2 separate regions of the Homo sapiens genome follow, and region 1 is linked to region 2. The links are contacts of gene promoters, found by promoter capture Hi-C in blood cells and fetal thymus (Javierre and others, 2016). All regions are on one chromosome and are shown on one strand. The core of a region is centred on a gene start or on the middle of the fragment in contact, and the rest is flanking DNA. Distances in the headings are between cores, read along the strand shown. Region 1 overlaps LOC105375937 (a long non-coding RNA gene). Region 2 holds the start of RMDN1 (regulator of microtubule dynamics 1).

Region 1 (6,173 bases), core at 1,715-4,214, 1.0 Mb before region 2:
GTTTCTCAAAAACCTACAGAAATAAAAAAAATTGTTTTAAAGACACAAGAAATTAAAAAAAAAAAGAAAAAGAGGTGAGTAGAATCCCTTCTTGTCTCTCTCTATATTATCTATATTATAATGTATTGGCTTAGAACTGTCTGTGCTTCTAAATGCTGGCATGCACAATTCTTTCACACACACACACACACACGCATGCACACACACACGTCATTGTCTCTCGAGTGCTCCCACAGCGCAGGCCCCATTTGGCCTTCACACTGAGGACAGCTTGGGGTCCAGGCATCATCTTCCCTATTGGTGCTTTCCCTTTTATGATGCAATCTGGTTTCAATCACATATCACCCCAGTTTATGCATTTTTACAGGGTTGAATCTCAGTGAGGTCAGTGTTCTTGTATCTTTTTCAAAGGCAGGTAGATTTTCAGCTCTTATATACACTAATTCATTCTAACAGATACTTGGGCTATTGTCTAACTCTGCTCCTCCTCAGCATATAAGCTTAACCTTCTTATGGATTCACTGAGTGAGAGGGGATTCCTATATCCACTTACCAACTGTGGTTGACCATGTATTAGTTTGCTAGAGTGTCTGTAACAATGTACCACAAACTGAGTGGCTTAAACAATAGTTTATTGTCTTGCAACTCTGGACCCTGGGACCAAGATGAAGGTGTTGGCCAGACCTGTGAAGGTACTAGAGAAGGCTCTGTCCCAGACTTGTCTCCTAGTTTCTGGCAGTTACTTGATTTGTGGCAGCATACCACCAATTTCCACAGGGCATGCTCCCTGTGTATCTATGTCCAAATATCCTCTTTTTATAGACACCAGTCATATTGGATTATACCATGGAATGCCCACTCTACTCCATTACTTAAGATGAGCTCATCTTAACTAATTCCATCGGCAATGAATAGGACTCCAACCTTATATTATTTTGAGGGGGAGAGACACAATTCAACCCTTAACACCATTCAAAATATCTTTCCGCACAAAAATTTGTGTTACATGACAAAGGGAAACTTTATTCTTCACTAATTGCTAAACGTGTCTTAATTGGGCCTACACTTTATTTCATTGTTGCTTCCTGTTAAAAAACTTCATAAAATATATATGGCATGTTTTAATTACTGTGACAGATTCAATATAAATTTTAAAAGGAGAAAGAAAGCACATTTTAATGTACCATGTGTTTATATTATATGTAAATCTTTCACGATTGGCGAAAATTTTTACAGAATATTTGTGGAGGTCCCAAGTTAGAAATATTAAACACTTTATCAAGCTGCACTCATGTCCCTGATGTCTTCAAATGTATGTTGTTACAAACCTCATTTTTCAGGAAGCAATGTGCGTCTCGTTCATGTCCTGTGTTTCACCTGTATGTTTGTTATCCATATAAAGTTATAGTTATAAGACTTGTTATTTTACAATGAGAGCAAAGTTACTTCTTTTTTTTTTTTTTTTTTTTGAGAGGAGTTTCACTCCTGTCACCCAGGCTGGAGTGCAGTGGCGCCATCTTTGCTCACTGCAACCTCCACCTTCCGGGTTCAAGCAACTCTCCTATCTCTGCCTCCCAAGTAGCTGGGATTACAGGTGCCTGCCACCACACCCAGCTAATTTTTGTATTTTTAGTAGAGATGAGGTTTCACCATGTTAGCCAAGCTGGTCTCAAACTCCTGACCTCAGGTGATTCACCCACCTCGGTCTCCCAAAGTGCTGGGATTACAGGCGTGTACCACAGTGCCTGGCTGCAAAGCTATTTCTATACATGTCAGAACATGACATTGTTATCAGTGCATCAAATTTCTTTAATCTTTAGTAAAATAAAGCTGTCACAGTCTTGTTAGGTGACAAAAGTACTTTTTGTATAAAGTAAGCATGAATTGGGTTTTGTGTCAACTCATTGATTCTATAAGGAGAAACAATTCACTTTCAAGCTTTTTTCTTCAGTAACTAATACTCTGGCACATCTGGAGTTCAAATACTATGTTTTTTTTTTAAAGAATTCTGAAGCAACACTTCATATAATTTTCCATTGTTCTTCAAAGACTGGAAAAAAATGAGTTAGACTTGTATTGAAAAGGCTTTGGGCAGAGAGTTAGGCAAACTCCTTGCTGTTGATGCAAATTAAATCAGATCATTAGGTTAGAGATCATATAAACTAATGCTGTGGTGTTCCATGTTGAGCAGGTCTATGCAAACCAACCCCAAAATTCAAGGAAGCTGAGAGGCCAAAGGAGGAGTGACAGATCAGTTTCTTAGAAAGAAATAGTTAATAGGAACTTATGATCAGAAGCTGTGTCTGGTCGGTATCTCGGGAGGTGGTGGGACAAGATGTTGGAAACTCATGCTATTACCCCACCAACCCAGGGCTTACATACCACAGGGAAAGGATAATTCCAAAAGGATGTGTAGGACATCTGAAGTATGATAACTGAAGTATATTAGGTTGTTTGACCTAAAGGTAAGATTTACAGTAAATACCTTTGCGCGAGAAGCAATGGATAAACTGGAAATCTTAGAGGCCCTCCAGGAACAGAGGTTGATCAGAAGCCAACACGGCAGATTAGCATCCAAGGTGGAGTTGCATTAGCCTCCGCAATTGGTCATAATCACCTTGCCAGGCCCCATTCCAGCTAAAGTTGTTTCTCAATAATTTCAGGAAAGCAGTGGTCTGCTATTCTCTGAGCACCATTGACCACTTATTGGATTGTGGAAGAGACCTAACTCAAATTTGGACCAAGAAGTGACTTGAAATCAAGATCTCTCCCCAGAAGAGACAACAATGAATAGGTGAGCCTATCAGGTAGTCTTCCTTTACAAACAGCCTGAAGGCTACAAAGAGGATTGTGTAACAAAGAACGGAAAACAACACAGCACAGGGAGCCTTCAAGACAAAAACCCCAAAACTCAGAGGGGAGGATGAAGAAGCTAGTCCTCAGAGCTGTCTGGGTCTCTCTGACAGCTCTTTGTTTCCGTCTGGTCTGTTTATGTAAATTCTTAACCTCCCATCTCTTAAGGTGGCCTGACTTATTATGTCCTTTAAATAATCCAAAGTGTCTACATATGCGTAATCAGAGACCACATTTTTCCATGCATATTTACCGAGATCCTTCCTCCCATCGCCACTACCCATTAGGTGCTGGGCTCTGTGCTGGAGATTTCCAGTATTCCGGGAGTACACAGAAGAAATTTTTTAATTAATTTTTTAAAAATCTATACAAGAGACCACTTAAATATGTCTCTTCTATTAGCAAAACTGTACTCAGTCTCTATTTCTGTGTTCCAGAAAGATTTTGTGAATGAATTACAAGCCCATTTTGAGCCAGGGGTGCAAGGATTTCTTCCCTTATGTGACATGTTCCCACAAACAGCACATGACAAGCAATTACATCTAAGGATGAATGGAACATTGTTGAGTACCATTCTAAGAATTCCAGCCATTATTTTTCTTTTTCAAAATAAACTTGAAATAACATAATATGTCACAGATGATTGACAAAGTTTTTGCTAGTGTATGATGGTATTATATTTAATTGCTAGAACTAGAATTTAGTTAGACCATGCACTGGCTCTTTAATTCACCTATGTGGTTTTAGGGAATTCACCTCCCTGAGCCTCAATTTTACCATATTGAAAAATGTAGATAGTAACTTTAAAAGTTCTTTTGTGAGGACTGAAAAGGATAATGCATTTTTAAGTACTTAGCATAGTGCTGGGGCACATGACTAATCAATAACTGTTGGTTAATTTCCTTTGCTCCCTCCCTCCTTCCCTTCCTCCTTTCAATTTTTGTTATCAATAAAGCCACATGCAGTCTGAAAGTCTCCTTTTAAGTTTTACATCAAGAATCACATCCCCAAACCTAGATACCATATATTTTATTATTCTGAGTCAGTCCCACTTCATGTGATGTTCACTTCCTGTGTCACGTATAACTGGCAGACCTTAAATACAAACTGAAGAGCAATCATTTTCTTGGTCATACATAAGCTTTCAGACAAAGTATGATGAAATCATTTTTAGCTCTACTCTTTCTACAGTAAAGTATTGCATGCAGTTGGGAAGTGGGAATTATTTCTCTTTTGGAAATTGGAAGCCAATAGTGTACAATATACACTTAATTCTTCCTGTGATAGACATGGATCTCTTCAGTGATACAATCTGCGCCACACTCTGGCATTCTTTGGGCCCCTCCCAGCTATCTAGTATTTCCAGACTTCTTATCTAGGAATTGGCAGCATCTCAACATCAGGCAACTGTCTCAATGACTATAGTAATATCGTTTTCTAAAAATTAAAGAAACAGTTAAGTAATTACTTTTAGAAAGTGCTCTTTAGATACAAATCAAAACAGTATATTTGGTTAAGAGCTTGTCAGAACATTTTTGTTTCCAAGTAAAGATCTGAAGGCTTGCTCTCTGTGCACACCTGGACAAGTTATGTCAACCAATTCACCTATAAATCCATGTCATTGTTCACAGCAAATCTCCTCGAAAGTGTAGTTCATAATTGCTGTCTCAACTTCCCCATTCTCTTCTTTCCCTGGTTCACTTCAATCAGCATTTTGTCTCCACTAGACCATTGAAATAGCACTAATTTAAGATCACAAAGACCTACACACAAAAATCACAAAGATCTAAATGAAGCAAACTCTCCCTTCTGTGTCCTAATCTTACTTGACATCATGATGCAACTGATACAGCTCATCACTCCTGCTTTTTCTGTGTTTAAATGTTTTTTCAGTGGCTTCAATGTTTAGTTTCTGGTTTGCTACCCACTTTGCTGGCTTTTCTTTCTCTGCCAGACCTCCTACCGATGGAGTTCCCTATGCACCTACTCTTTGTTGTTCCTCCTCTAGCTACACAGTCTACCTGAGTGATCCAGGATTTCCATTTCAAATGCCACCTGCGTGTTGAAGACTATCACATTTGTGTCCTTCCTCCCCACTGAACCACAGCCTCTCATGTCCAATTGTCTATTCAGCTTTGCCACTGGGATGTCTAAGAGGCATCTTAGACTTTAATATGACCAAAAATACCAACTGAGCTTGTCTGTGCAATCTTCTTCATTCTCAGTGTTCTCCAAGTCAGTAAATTGCATCATCTTCCATCCAGTTTCTCAAGCCAAACACTTGCAACTCACATCTGATTCCTCTCTCTGTCTAACATTCTTCATGCAACCCTATCCAAACTATCATTATATCTTCCGCGAACTACTGTAATAACATCTCAGCATGTCTCTCTCCCTCTACTCTGGCTACTCTGAAGTTTATTTTCTACACAGGAGGCAGAGAGCTCAAACAAGCATTAATCAAATCATATACTCCCCTCCATAACAGCTTTCAGTGCCTTCCCATTGAATCAATAAGGAAATCCAAACTCTCTCCCTTGCCCCCAAGGCCTTACATGATCTGACCTGCCTTCCTCTTTAAACATTTTGACCTCCTCTCTTTCCCTGCATTCCAGAGCCTCAAGGGCTTTACACTTGCTATTCCTTCTCCTTGGAATGATTTTCCCTGAGATTTTCAAATGGCTATTCCCTCTCATTTGAGGTCTCAGCTGAAATGATGCCATTTTATTAAGATTTTCCTTTACTATCCTAGTAAAAATAGCTCCCCCAGTGCCCTACCTCCATCACTTTCTTGTGTATCATCCTATTTTATTTTCTGCAAAGCACCTACTGTTATTTGATATTATTGTACTTATTTATATGTTTTGTTTATCTCGTTTCTCTGACCTGTGCTATGTGAGATCCTTGTATTACCAGCATGCAGAACAGTGTCTGGCACTTAGCGGGAGCTTCTTTCATTTATAGTTGTTGGCTGGCTGACTGGATGCTTTAATTCTCTGTAAGATCCAGACAGTAGCAAGGCATATCTTATGAATGTTTGTAAGTATTTAACTGTACTTATAGAGCAGTACTCTGTAAATGTTAGCCATCATAATTATTAAAATGTAAATTTTCTTCTAGAAAATTAGCTATCCATTAGATAGCAGTAAATGCTATTTAATGCTGAATTGGGTATGGTGAAATAGACAGTCTCATACATTGCTGGTAGAAATGTAAATCCTCTTAGAAAGCAACTGGGCTTTGTGGAGCAAGACTTTAAACCTGTTATGAAGGGCCTTAGTAATTTTCATATCCTTTGACTCATAAATATCCAAAAAAAT
Region 2 (6,112 bases), core at 3,298-5,797:
GTATTATTGGGCTTTACCATCCTTCCTGCTATCCTACAAAGTGCAGCCCTTCCATTTTGCCCTGAAAGTCCCAGGTTTTTGCTCATTAACAGAAAAGAAGAGGAGAATGCTAAGTAGATCCTCCAGCAGTTGTGGGGCACCCAGGATGTATCCCAAGACAACCAGGAGATGCAAGATGAGAGTGCAAGGATGTCACAAGAAAAGCAAGTCACCGTGCTGGAGTTCTTTAGAGTATCCAGCTACCAACAGCCAATCATCATTTCCATTGTGCTCCAGCTCTCTCGACAGCTCTCTGGAATCAATGTTGTGTTCTATTACTCAACAGGAATCTTCAAGGATGCAGGTGTTCAAGAGCCCATCTATGCCACCATTGGTGCACGTGTGTTTAATACTATCTTCACTGTAGTTTCCCTATTTCTGCTGCAAAGGGCAGGAAGGCGGACCCTGCATATGATAGGCCTTGGAGGGATGGCTTTTTGTTCCATGCTCATGACTGTTTGTTATTAAAGGATGAGTATAATGGGATGAGCTTTGTCTTTATCGGGGCTATCTTGGTCTTTGTGGCCTTTGAAATTGGACCAGGTCCCATTTCCTGGTTTATTGTGGCCGAACTCTTCAGCCAGGGCCCCCGCCCAGCTGCGACTGCAATGGCCGGCTGCTCCAACTATACCTCCAACTTCTTAGTCGGACTGCTCTTCCCCTCTGCTGCTTATTATTTAGGAGCCTGTATTTTTATTATCTTCGCCAGCTTCCTCATCACCTTCTTGACCTTTACCTTCTTCAAAGTCCCTGAGACCCATGGCAGGGCTTTTGAGGATATCACATGGGCCTTTAAAAGGCAGGCACATGGTGCAGATAGATCTGGGAAGGATGGCATCATGGAGATGAACAGCATCCAGGCTGCTAAGGAGACCACCACCAATGTCTAAGTCATGCCTCCTTCCACCTCCCTCCCAGCATGGGAAAGCCACCTCTCCCTGAATGAGAGACCTCATCAGGATGAACCCAGGACTGCTTCTGAATGCTGCTACTTGATTCCTTTCTTATCCCACGCACTCCATGCGCACCTCAAGGCTGGGGTTTGTTGGATTTTCAATGGTTTTTTAAATATTTTATTTCCTGGACATTCTCTTCTGCTTAGGAGAGACCAAGTGAACCTACCTTCATTTCAGGAGGCAATGGCCACTTGGCATATGACAACTTTGCCAGTTTTTCCTTCCTTGGGTTCTAATATTGCCGCACTAGGGGATATAGGAGAGGAAAAGTAAGGCGCAGTTCCCCCAACCTCAGACTTATCAGGAAGAAGATATACATATGAGTGTGGAAGGCAGACGGGGTTTATGTAAGAGCACCTTCCTCACTTCCATATAGCTCTACAAGGCAAATTAACTTGAGTTTTATTTATTTTACCCTCTGGTTTAATTACATAATTTTTTAAGTTCTGGGATACAGGTGCAGAATGCGCAGGTTTGTTACATAGGTATACATGTCCCATGATGGAAATGTTTATTTTTTTAAGTGTAATTTTGCCAAATAATAAAAACAGAAGGAAATTGAGATTGGAGGGAGGTGTTTAAAGAGAGGTTATACAGTAGAAGATTTCATGCTGGGGAGGTTAGCGTGCAATATGAAGAATTTAGGGAGAAATGTAGTTCATTATTGGAGGGTATATTATGTGGTGCCTGAAGTCTGCACATTACCTCTTGACAATTTCTGTCCTTCAGATGGAAACTCTTAATTTCCCATAAAAGTCATATGCCTACATAATAAAGTTATTGATTTCCTTTGGAACTTTTTTCTTTTAATAGTTTACATGTAGTAGTACTTGAAATCTAGGATTATTAACTAATATGGGCATTGTAGTTAATGGTGGTTGATGGGTTCTAATTTTGAATGGAGTCAAGGGAAGGGAAAGTTATTTCTAGAAAGCTTGTTCCCCCTCACTGGACCAAACAACTCCTCCTTGTAGGAGACTCATTACTTTTGAAGTAATCCCACCACCTATCTGGTGGGAGAGCCATCCAAATGAGAAACTTAAAATAATCAGTTCTTGGTAGAGATTCATTATTTCTCCATTTTGTGCTTTAGGAGATTTTAGGTGTTGATTTTGTTTTATTTTAACTCATATCTTTAAAGGAATTCCCCAAAGAATGTTTATAGCTAACTTGGAATTTATAACCTCAGCTCTGGGATTTTTTTCTGAACGATTATTATCTAAAGGTGTGTTGTTGCCTTTAGGGTCATGCCATGCTTGTCTATGTCTGTTACCATGTCACTGTGGTCCTATGCCAAGTGCCCTTAGGGGGTCTCAATCTTTCCAACAGACCATGTTCGAGATAGTATGAGTCAATGTACAGTGTAGCCCACACTTGAGAGGATGAATATGTGTGCACTGTCCCTTTGCTCTGGATGGAAATAGGTTATTGTTGACTTATTTTTTCTGTGTTCCTACAGCCCCTTTTTCATATGTTGCTCAATTTCCCTTCCCCTTCTTGGTGCTTACACATCTCAGACCCTTTAGCCAAACCCTTGCTGATAACGGTATCTTGGTTCTCAGTTCTCACTGTTTCCTCTGGTCACGGAGACTTCAAATAAAAATGCACATAGCTATGGAGTGGGGTTTAGCTGGAAAAGGTGACCTTCTTCCAACTTCACGTCAACTTCTGGCTCCTCAAACAGTAGGTTGGCAGTTAGGCAGGGAAGTTGTTTTCCCATTTCTCACTGAGCAGATTGTGAATATTTCCATATGGATTTTCTATTATTAACATTACCCTGATTCTTTGTTTTAAAATAAAAATTCTGAATGTACGCACACAAAAAAACTCTAAATGTTCCATATATCTAATTTATGCTTACCTTTGGCTGTGGCATGAACCACAGCAGCCTGAGAGATAACCTGGTAAGTTTCAAAACCCAAATACGACAAAGCTGAGAGTAAAAGGCCTCTTTTGAAAGTTCCTGGGTTTCCCATTACCTATGGAAACAATTATGTTAAGAGTTACAAACTTTGAAAATTTGAAGGTACTGCTACCCCAAGCAAAAATTACATGAATTTTCTCCCACCCCCAAAGCAATCGATCATAATACTGGAAGCTTAAAAATTACTTCATCAAAATCTTTAGTAAAACTATCTCAAAGCGTATCTTATTGAGAAAAAGATATCCCCTGGAGTCGCCGCTCATCTAAAAATCACACTCCTGCTGGAAAGGAAGAGCTACAACTTATTTGCTACAACTTATTTGCAAATGCATGGATATTGCAAATTGTATGAAGTAAAATATGAGACACCAACACATAATAAAAATGAATCTTACAGACAAGATTATCATATATAGTAATTACTACATATAAAAATGTACATGGCTAACTTTTAAATTTTTTTGTAGAGACAGGGTCTCACTGTGTTGCCCAGGCTGGTTTCAAACCCCTGGACTCAAGCAATCCTTCCGCCTCGGCTTCCCAAAGTGCTGGGATTACAGGCTGAGCCAAGGGGCCAGGCCTAAAATGGGACTTCAAACTCATCATTGTTCCAATTTGAAAACTTACGGCTAACTAGTTTCATACTTAGAACTCCTCCCATCTCTCTGCCTATATTATCTATAACCTCCCCATTTGGTTATAAACTTCCAAGGAAGGGGAATATGCCAAATTTTAACCACCCCTCCCCACCATCAGTCCCATAATAATTCTGAAAGATTTTAACTGAGCAGTTAAAAATTTGAGTTTAAAATAATGAAACCCCTAGTTCATGTGAAATATATCATATGCATTAATGCCATTCCAATTCCCTGACAAGAATAAACAGAGGCCCACGAGCAGTCTAATAGAAATACCAGAACTGAGACTACAACATGCCGACAACCTTCATTGACGTTATGCAGATACAACGGGCAACTGAGAAATAAACATTTTTAAACAAAAACCTAAACAGTATGAAATCTCTGCTTCTGAGTCGTAGAACTTTTTAAATCACACACCACACTTTTCAAAGTCTGAAAGGGGCAGCCTCAAGCGCTGTTGTATCTGTCATCGCCTACAGGGAGAATAATTTCACAGCGGTCAAGGTTCTTTCCCGTCCTGTTTTACATTTCGCACAAGAAGGGCGGGTAGCAGGCAGCTTCTGGGGCGCGTGGGGGCAAACCCCACTCCTTCTCTGACAGCCCCAGTTAAGGATAGTGGAGGTTTGCAAAATGGAAGGGACCTGTCCGGGCGTTCCAGGCACAGTGGCCCCGAGTTCTTTCCTCGGTTCACCACATTCCTTAGGCAGCGCGGGGCCGCCACCACTTAAGTTAAGGGGGAGCCGGAACCCACTGAGTAGGAAGTGAGGAGCGGGAGCCAGGACCACGGGGGTACCTCGAAGCCGCGGAATCGACAGGGGCCGCAATGCCCGCGGCTGCCCGAAGTCCCCGCAGGGAGACGAGACCCCGGGGCGGCTCCACGTCGGAAAGGCAGAAGGCGCCACAGTCGAGCAGCCAGCGCCATGACCTGCAACTTGCGGGCTGACCCTGCACTACTTCAGGCAGCTACGGAGGCGGGCGGGGCTAAAGGAGATTCAATCCTTCCGGAAAGAACCGCGCCCGCCCGCCTCCTGCACAGCACCTCTTCCGCCTCCTGCCCAGCACCTCTTCCGCCCCCATGGTTTCCGGTGCACGGGCTTAGGGGGTGGGAAATACCCCGATTGGGTGGGACTTAATGGACTTTCCGCGCCTGCGTCCAGGACTGAGGCCGTGAGAGCGCTCTCTTCAGGCGCTCTGACTTGTTTCTGCTCCATCTCTCTAGGGGGTCTTTCATGGTTTGGGCACAAGGATTCGTCGCCAGAATAGAACTGAAAGCTCGGAAATAGACCCGAGAATACAAGTATGCCAGAAAAAAAATTGTCATTTTAATTATCTGCTGCCTTCAAAAGTAGATTGAATCTTGGTACTAGTGGGTCTTTTTTGGAAGTAAATAATTGGAAGAATTATGTTGCCCAACATGAAGAAGGGAAAGTCTCAGTCTCTTCGACTGAGCGACTCAAGGGGGTAGATTCAAGAGAGAGTCCAGAGCAAAGAAACAAAAAATGCAAAGCGTTTTGGGAAGAGGAACTAGCGGGAGGAGGCCTCTGGAAAGGATACTGATGCCCTTGAATGCTAGGGCATGTGTAGTAAAAAACAGAAACAAAAACAAACCCTGGTCTCCCCTAAAATTCTTCAATAAGATGTTTTACTTACTCGAGCAAAGTATTTTATTTTACTCGAGTAAAATAAAATTTCTTGCTCGAGTGGAATTCTTTTGTGGGAAAATGAAGAAATTTTGGATCCTACTTGAGGCCTGATCAGGGTGGGTGGAAACACAGACTGCAAAGGGAGTACCTACTATATGGGTTTAACGAAAAATCTTATGGGTAATAAGGGAGGCGAGTCATGGTTTTAAAAAATTAGGTTGCATTTCTATGGTACTTTTAATACTGTATAGGGAATTAATACATAGTCGTATTGATCTTCCGAACTACCTTGTGAAGTAAGTGGTATCCCAGGTTTACAAATGAAAAAACTGTAACTCAAAGAGATGTATTAACCTAACCAAGGATATGTTAGAAGACAGGAATCCATGTCTTTCTACTCTGAGTCCAGTGCTCCTTCTACTATATGATTGCTACCTCCACTAGTCCCATTAAATCAGCTGTATTTCTTTAGGATTATGTCTTTAAAGTCTATCTTTAAAAATATATAGATCTCCTTCCCAACTTCTGAAACCTAGCTGTTTTTTCCCAAAGACAGAATCACTTTTATTTTATGCATTTCTACTGGCAGCTACCCCCTCAACATTGCTAAATGTTTATGCCACTGGATACCATGATAACAGTGAAATTAAGTTTCTGATATCTCTGCTAGAGTGAATTTGTAATTAAGTTTTTAGCTTTGAAAAAAAAATTAGATCCTAAGAAAAGTTGCAGGAACTCCCATATATTCTTCAGCTAGATTCAGCCATTGTTACCTTTTTCTCACATTTGCTTTATCTTTCTTTACATATCTTACCTATAATACACATATTATATTCCTAGTATTTTCTGTTGTAAGGCCTTTTGAGAGTAGATTACAGATATCATGACTCTTCAGTCTTAGAAACAAGA

Evidence for each region. Contacts are between HindIII fragments. The CHiCAGO score rates a contact against its expected background, and 5 or more counts as called.
Region 1: a fragment that was not itself captured here is called in contact with the fragment with the promoter of RMDN1 in region 2 in 1 of 17 cell types (naive CD8 T cells); the score reaches 5.3 in naive CD8 T cells.

Annotation. Positions count from the first base shown.
Region 1 is chr8:85,498,392-85,504,564 of GRCh38, forward strand. LOC105375937 (a long non-coding RNA gene) reads left to right here. Exons shown (of 7, transcript XR_929129.4): 3 at 2,664-2,794. Among named protein-coding and RNA genes, the nearest start is that of CA3-AS1, 37 kb to the left of the region's middle. The HindIII fragment of the contact is 2,056 bases long and covers 1,937-3,992 here.
Region 2 is chr8:86,504,139-86,510,250 of GRCh38, forward strand. It overlaps RMDN1 (regulator of microtubule dynamics 1), which reads right to left and starts at 4,548. Exons shown (of 10, transcript NM_016033.3): 1 at 4,354-4,548; 2 at 2,857-2,974. The coding sequence starts at 4,482. It also overlaps the pseudogene SLC2A3P4. RefSeq lists an enhancer at 4,293-4,462. The HindIII fragment of the contact is 14,106 bases long and covers 3,092-6,112 here.